Linked DNA regions of Homo sapiens: region 2 is linked to region 1. Evidence: promoter capture Hi-C in 16 types of primary human blood cells and fetal thymus (Javierre and others, 2016). All regions are on one chromosome and are shown on one strand. The core of a region is centred on a gene start or on the middle of the fragment in contact, and the rest is flanking DNA. Distances in the headings are between cores, read along the strand shown. Region 1 holds the start of TAAR6 (trace amine associated receptor 6). Region 2 has its middle 44 kb from the start of SNORA33.

Region 1 (4,263 bases), core at 503-3,002:
AACACAGGGCTCTATTCATACCAACTCTTTAAACAGTTTTGTGCAATAGCAAGAACAGCAGCCAAATAATCATCCTAACATCATTCTGGGAAGTACAGTGGCTTCTGCTTCCCACTTTGGGGGAGGAAATAATTACAAGAATGACAGTAACTGGTTTGACAATTACAACAGCCTGGTCAAGATGATGTCTTCATTTGCAAATTGCCCCATACACCCTGAGATCTCTCCCAAGATTGAATAAATTAAATTAATACCTAAAAGGACTCCTGTGGTAAAATAACCAAAGCAAAAGAAACCAATAATTTGATAAAGGCTATTCACAAATGAAATTTTTGGCAGGCTGGGAAAGAGTAGAAAGCTTTGTAAAGAAAAGAGGAAAGGGAATAAATAAAAAAAAAAAAACAAATATTTTTAGGAAAAATACCAGAGCAGAGGGAAGAGTCAATGGATTAAAAGACAAAAAGTGTCTGCAGGGAGTGGGATATGCTGAGCTCTAAAGCAGTTAACAAATAGGAATTTAACATTTGTTAGCCAAGTAAATACTTTTGCAGAAGGGACAGGAAAGTGCACATCTTAACAAGACTGAAAAACATTGATTTGTTTTTCATTTGAAGAGCAATTTATTTGCTATTCATTCATAGTCTTACTTGATTTTTAAAAACTCATTTCGCTTGGTAATTTTAAAGGTATCCTGAACTTCGTCTATACAACTGCTTATATATGTTCAGAAAACAAATTCATGGTTGCTGAACTGTTCTTTAAAACCTGACCAGTTACAATAACTTTTATTGCTTTCCTAAACCATGGGTAAAATAAAGCATAAATCAAAGGATTCATGGCTGAGTTATAATAAGCACACCAACAGCAAATCTCATAAATACAGGCAGGGGTTATAAAGCCCATAAAGGCATCAATTAATGAATCAATGCTATATGGTAACCATGAAATCATAAATGCTACCACTGTGACCCCCAGGGTTTTAGCTGCTTTTCTCTCTCTCCTGGCCACTCTGGCTTTGTAACTCTCTGAGGATGATTCTGTCTTGCTACCAGTATTTTCTATCTTTTTCGCCTGTCGTCTAGCCACAAGAAATATGTTACCATACAGAATTATCATAATAAAGGTAGGTATAAAGAAGGATAGAAAATCTGTCAACACCCAGTTTTGATTTACAACGGTCTGACAACCTCCTATACAGTTTAGGGCATCAGATAATTCCTCCAGCCCATCGTCATAGACACCTGTGTAGAACACAGCACCGCTGTACATGAGGGGCAGGATCCAGGACACGCTGATGCAAATTCCTGACACAGATACGGTGAACTTGGTAGGATAGACCAGGGGGTCAGTAACCGCAATGTACCTGTCGATGGAGATGAAGCACAAGTGAAAGAGAGAAGAGTAACAAAATGCCACATCACAGCAGGTGTGGAAAGTACAAAAACTCCTCCCAAAATACCAGCAGCTCTCCACCGTCCTGACCATGCTGAAGGGCATCACAGTCACACCCACCAAGAAATCAGCGCAGGCCAGAGAGGCAACGAGAAAATTGGTCGGAGAGTGCAGCTGCTTGAAATGGAGGATTGAAATCATCACCAGGAGGTTTCCAAACACAGCCAGCACAGCCCCAAAGCCAAACACTATGTACAGAATCACCCGGGATCCCGGCGAGAAGGGGATTTTCACACAGGACCCATTCACGTTCGCGTAGCACAGCTGCACAGCCACCAGCAGGGATGAATTGCTGCTCATAACGCTGTTATTTACATATGGAGAAGTTTTGTCCTTGTTGATTATCACAAAAAATACAGGATTGTTCCTGATTTTCAGTGCTCCTGCGGAAAAAAACACATATTCACCAGGATGCCAGAGGAAATGATCAGATATTATCTCTAATATAATTTTTCAAGTTTCCATTTTTATTATAAATCCCAAATGTTTATGACAAAATAAAATTTGACAAAAATTATATTGCACAAGATTATTGGAGATTGTTTCAACTGATAAATGTCTCATGCTCTTAATTTGATAAAATTCCTTTTGATTTTAAATATCCTTTCATATTTTATTTTTACCTTTTGAGTTTCTCTGTGCAACAGTCGCTGATATGGAATGTAATTATGGAGCTGAAAGATCACCTCCTGTTATCTTTATCTCTGTTATCTGTCCTGCATTACCGCCTTAAAGATGAAGTCCTTTTAGCTAAATAAATGCCTTCAATGGGAAAATCCCTCGATGGAATCCCTGTAGTGCGCGGTGTGAACTAGTATGATTATTTTCAACAGTGATTACTAGGAAAGTTATTCTACAAAACAGGTCTCTACTCTATATTAAATTCTATTATCATTATTGTTTTAGGCCAAAGATTTGTTTTTCCTTAGTGCATAGACTTGAACCATTCCCTTGTTCCCAATCATAACTTAGCCACCCGGGTTTTTGTTACAAAGATACAATAGGGTGTAAATAGTAAGCATCAATACTTGGCTCTTTCTCTTCTGTTAAGAATCAATTTTCCATCTGCATTGGTTACCAACAAGCAGAAATTATTATAATACATAGTGAGGGGAACTTGAGATTGATAAAATATATTGCATGAAAGCATTAAAGAACGACATGCTGTTTAGACACACCGGCATTTCTGAGATGCTGGTGGAAAGACCAGTCCTCTTCTCAAGACATTGTTACTGGGAACACATCTGCAATGTGTCTGCATCCACATGACAAATGGGCAGTGAGCCCTCTCTCTCTGACTACGCATTTGTTTGCAATTCCTGGTGACTGGCCTTTGTGCTCCCGATGCTAAAAGCAGTCAAAAAAATAAGAATAATGAACAGGAAACTGGAAAATGGGAAGAGAATCCTCAGTAATGTTCCCAACCCTGGAATGTAAAGACACTGCAGAGTGAAGAAAATATTGTTATTATTATATTATTGTCTTCCTGAAGAAGGGTTCAACTCTCTTTCCAGTACAGGGCTGTGACTTTAGAGACATTTGTGAACTTGCTTTTCAAGTTATAAAGAGTGATAAGTATTATTATTAATCAATCTCGCTATCTGATTCCTACTCAATAAAATTAACACTCTTAACCAAGTAGTTTTCAGATGCTTCTTAATATTTTCTGTATGTCTGATTTTGTGAAATGGTGTCAATTTCTTATATAGACAAAACCCCGTGCGGGGCTTTCTCAACTTGAGCACAATGGACTTTTGAATTCAGATAACTCTTTGATATGATAAATTATTCTGTTAATCACGTGGCTTTTAGCAGCACCCCTGCTACGAGATGTCAGTAAAATCCTTCTAGTTGAGATACCAAAAACGTCTCCAGACATTGCCAAATTCCTCAAGGGACAAAATCAACCCCCTTCCTCCATTAAGACAATTGTCTTAGGCAATAAAAAAGTGTCAAGTGATGCCTCGATTTCAAATAGAAAAATAACTTTATATCCCTTCATCATTCTGATATTCATTTATTAATTCATCTATTCAACACATATTTATTGAATTCCAGTAGCTGTGTATTCAAGTAATGAACAAAACTGTTATGACCACTATACTCACGAAGCTTATAATCTTAAGAGGAAAACAAAACTTAAGGAAATAGAAAGACAGATTTACAATTTCAAATTGTGATAAGTACTACACAGACGAAAGACAATAGCGTCTACAGTAAGCACAATGACAGGCAGATGAGACAAAGGGGTCCCTAAAAACATGAGAAAACAAAAATTCTACTTTAATATTTATAGAATTTTAGATATTCTATTTTTTTATTGTACCACTTAAACGTACTAGAGGATTCTGTTTTAACTTATACTTTAATGTTCTGGATTAGTGAATAAAGAGCCCTAGTCCAGTGCTGACATGGGATGTCAATTGGAGGGTGTTTTCAAGGCCTCTAAAATTATTGCACATATACAACTCTTTCAATCTTGCTCCTAAAACCATCATCATAAATGGATTTGGATCAGATAAGATCGAGAGTAAGCAGAAATCCTCTTTCCCAGAGTTTTATGATTCTAACACCCGGGGAAGAATTTGGAGGCAAACTTTTGAGTGTCTTGCATCAGCTAAAGTTTTCAGTCTCACTTCTACACTTGCTCTTTAGTTTGCAGGTTGTGAACTCCTTAAAGACATTTCTAAAATAAAAGTCCACTAAGTAAACCATCTCCCCAGTGATCCAGAGTGTGAAACATTCTTCATTATGACTAAGGTGGGAGAAAGATGTGATAATGAGGCCCTGTTGTTGCAGTACCCAAACTCA
Region 2 (4,058 bases), core at 780-3,279, 290 kb before region 1:
ACCTATAATCCCAACACTTTGGGAGGCCGAGGCAGGTGGATCACTTGAGGTCAGGAGTTTGAAACCAGCCCGCCCAACATGTTGAAACCCCGCCTCTACTAAAAATACAAAAAATTAGCCAGGCATGATGGTGCGTGCCTGTAATCCCAGCTACTCAGGAGGCTGAGGTGGGAGGATTGCTTGAGTCTGGGAGGCAAAGGTTACGGTGAGCCGAGATCATGCGATACGGCACTCCAGACTGGGTAACAGAGCAAGACTCCATCTTTAAACGAAACGAAACTAAACTAAACTAACATAAAATAAAATACTTGGCCTTATAAATGCTAGCTACTATTATCTATGTCGCTATTGTTTTTATACCTTTATTATTAAAGCCCTTAAAATTGAAATGACTTTTAATGTATCTCTTAAGATTGCTATTCAATAGACATTTTACCAATGCTAAATATGGGGAAGCAATGAAACACAGCTAATGTCAAGCGCCTAAATTAGAAGTAGGAACAAGGTTTTCTGAGTTCTCGGCCTATTCCTTTCTAATCTCTTCTTAGAACTTAGCCAACACTGAAAAGGCAGCACTTCTGAATGAAGATAAAGGAATCTACCAAAAAGTAGGTTACGCAAGTTTCCTAGGAACCAAAGTTATGTGAGTCGTGCATATATGAATTGGATTCATCTAATCCATTCAGTTTGAATATGAGTATTTACATTAAAATTCATGAAAAATACAAAAGCATTATATATATTGCAAACTTATATTCACCATACGTTGTTGTTAATGCTCAAGCAGGAACAAAATAAAAGAAAAAAGTATAAAGGTAAAATGTGTATATTTTCCCCCATAAGTAATTTTTGCTTCATTCTGCTTTGTGCTTGAAAAATCATATAAAAATATAAACAATATTCCTATTTTAAAACTCTTTCATTTTGTTTTGTTGTTGTTTAGCATTTATAGATTCTGGAGGTTGGGTGCGGTGGCTCACGCCTGTAATCCCAGCACTTTGGGATGCCGAGGTGGGTGGATCACCTCAGGTCAGGAGTTCAAGACTAGCCTGGCCAACATGGTGAAACCTCGTCTCTACCAAAAGTACAAAAAAATTAGCCGGGTGTAGTGGCAGGCACCTGTGATCCCAGCTACTTGGGAGGCTGAGGCAGGAGAATCGCTTGAACCCGGGAGTCAGAGGTTTCAGTGAGCGGAGATTGCGCCGTTGCACTCCAGCCTGGGCAACAAGAGTGAAACTCCATCCCGAAAAAAAAAAAAAAAAAAAAAAACAAAAAAAAACACACAAATAACTTTCTGAGAAGCTTTCATTTTCATATTGTATATTTGATGGATGTTTCCCAAGATTTTAGACCAAATATCAAATTTTCCATATAGTACCAAACGTGACACATAATGGGTTCTCAAGATACATATTTGTTAAGTTAAAGAATAGCAATTTATTGTGAAAGTGCCTATGCCTACACACAATAGACCCTTAATAATAAATGATTTTTGAATCTGAATGTTATTCTTTGTTTACCAAAATGACAACAGAATTGTAATGAAAGGATTATAACATGGTTGACCATCGGTCAAGTGGAAAACCTTCTAGACCCCATCTACTTCTCTGTTGTAATGGTAAGGTTCCTGAGTACTCTAGGCAGCTCTTGAAGCGCAAATCAGATGAAGTGGGCCTAACAGTGTTTCTTGAGTGTGGGATGGTCCATAAAGACTTCCTTGAAACCTCACTTTGAAATACGCTGCCCCACCATCCTCATGATAACTTTGTATTGATCAGTCTTTGAGCCATAGGCTGAAGTACAGTATAAAGAGTCGTATTTCTTACCCCCTATTACATATGACTTAATATCTTTTGGCTAGAGACAAAAGTTATATCAGATATATTTAGAGAAAATGTATGTAATGAGAGTGACTAATGTATCATGACTTACAAATATCATGCCTAATATGTTTATTAGCTATCTTTACATGTTTTTGAAAGTTGTAATGTTTGAATGAGCAACAAATTGACCAAAAGCTAAACACTAATGTGAAAATTGAGCAGTGTTGGATATAGTCAGAGGGCAGGGAGTTGTGAAAGACTAAAGAAAAGATGGATGAGAAATATGAATACAAAGAAGTTATTAGAAAAATGGGATCAAACCCAGAAGAGAGGACGGTAAAAGTCAGAGGAATGCCCAACTAAGAAATCAGAGTATCAGAAGGCTTCAGTTATCATGCTGAACTTGAGAGTTAACCTTGTTCCCTACAAACTATGCCTGTCTATACTGGGCTGAAACTATCCTAAATCAGTAGGCGTAGTGGGCCTTGATTATAGCAAAACTCTTGATAAAGTCTTTAAAAATAAATTTGTAGATGAAATAAATATCACAAAGCATAATTTTTTTCTAAGACTTATCCTATTGCCTTATATATGGATAGCAGACACTTATATGGAAAGAATGAGGACTGTGATCTGGGGAATACCACATTAAATGAATTCATAGCTGGCTGATAACATATTTATTAATCAATGCTTTACTATCCTCTCTATTGAGAGTTATTGGAAGACAGAGATCATGTAATATTATCTTTGCAACCCTGGCCTGAGCAAAGGGCCTAAATACCCAATACATATCTGCAGATCAACTGAACCTGGAGGGAGATAACCAGCAGCTTATCTCAGAATGCAGATGTTCAATTTTTTCATCTGTGATTTGAATGAATACCTAAGAGGTTTTAAGCAAATTAAATGTGTGGATAACATGAAAGCTTAAAGGATAAGATGCTTTAAATACTTGATTGATCAAGAGGCCACCACCACTCATCTTAAATACAGCACTTAATGGGAACTATAGCAGCAATAGTAATTGAGCATTTATATGAAGTCAACACCATTAGGAACAACTAGATGCAAAGGTAAACTGAGGGAAAACCATGTTGCCTGCCCTCAAATGAGATTATTTCATTTTTTTCCTCTGAATGCCATTTAAATAAGTAATAAAAATTTAAAATGTAAGTCCTTGGAAATATCTAATATATGTAATTAACTCTGATTTAAATTTCGGGTGAATTTGATCAAACATTGAGAAAAGGTTTGAAACTTTAATAAAAGCCAGAGCATGAAACTTTAATTTAAAAAGGAGCAGTTTCATGGAAGTGTCCAAAAATAATTTTGCAAAAAATAATATTTTTTGAGTGGCCACCAGACAAAAGTGTTGAGTGACCAACTAATTTGAAAAACTGATTGTTCCCCAGTGTTGTTAGAAAAAAAATTATAGCATTAATCGGTTTTGAAATAGGCCTTTGCCTGGACTAAAATTTTGCCCAAATAAGATACAGGGTCCTTCTGGCACACTTTGAGCTTAGGATAGAACCATAGAAACTTAGAGACACTACCTTACATTTGGAAGCAGTTCTACTTTCTTAGCGAGAGGATCACGGGAAACTTCTGTACCTGTAGGGCAGTGGAGATCAAGATGTGGGAGCCTGGGTTTCTGACTGACCTTTCAGCAAAGGGTACCCATTTCACAGTGGCAAAGATGACGGCCTTAGCTTCCCCTTTCTTTGATTTCAAAGGTTTATTTCCTGCCATCTCTCACAAAATAAAAAGACCAATTCAGAGGTAAATTTCTGTATTAAAAATGGAAACATCTGACATAAGCAGAAATGTGCAGAGAGTCATATTTCTGACTATGTAATTTTACCCTCTGTTTTCAGGAAGAAATTTAGAATTTTCTTCTCCAAACTCATAATTTTTCTAGTATATTGTCATCTCAACGTGACAGCAACTTGAAGGAATAAAAATTTGAGGGAAGGAAAATTAAAACATCCCTTTCAAAGAATACAGATTGCCATGGAGTAGTTCTGAGAAGTTCAGAAAAGCGGTCCAATGACTAGCATGTTGCCAGATCATTTGCCAAAATGTTGACATGAGAGTTCCCTGAAAACTCTGTTTTACATTTCCAAAAATTTCAGTGAGGAAATTGCCAAAAGAATAAACAATCAGTTCAATTGCATACAGGGAAGAATAAGGTCTACGTCCAATGTGCATATTCTCTGTTTATAGCTGGGAATA

Evidence for each region. Contacts are between HindIII fragments. The CHiCAGO score rates a contact against its expected background, and 5 or more counts as called.
Region 2: a fragment that was not itself captured here is called in contact with the fragment with the promoter of TAAR6 in region 1 in 1 of 17 cell types (neutrophils); the score reaches 5.2 in neutrophils.

What each region holds. Positions count from the first base shown.
Region 1 is chr6:132,567,811-132,572,073 of GRCh38, reverse strand. TAAR6 (trace amine associated receptor 6) reads right to left here and starts at 1,752. Exons shown (of 1, transcript NM_175067.1): 1 at 715-1,752. The coding sequence starts at 1,752. The coding sequence ends at 715. The HindIII fragment of the contact is 3,206 bases long and covers 361-3,566 here.
Region 2 is chr6:132,859,022-132,863,079 of GRCh38, reverse strand. No RefSeq gene overlaps it. Among named protein-coding and RNA genes, the nearest start is that of SNORA33, 44 kb to the right of the region's middle. The HindIII fragment of the contact is 1,450 bases long and covers 1,305-2,754 here.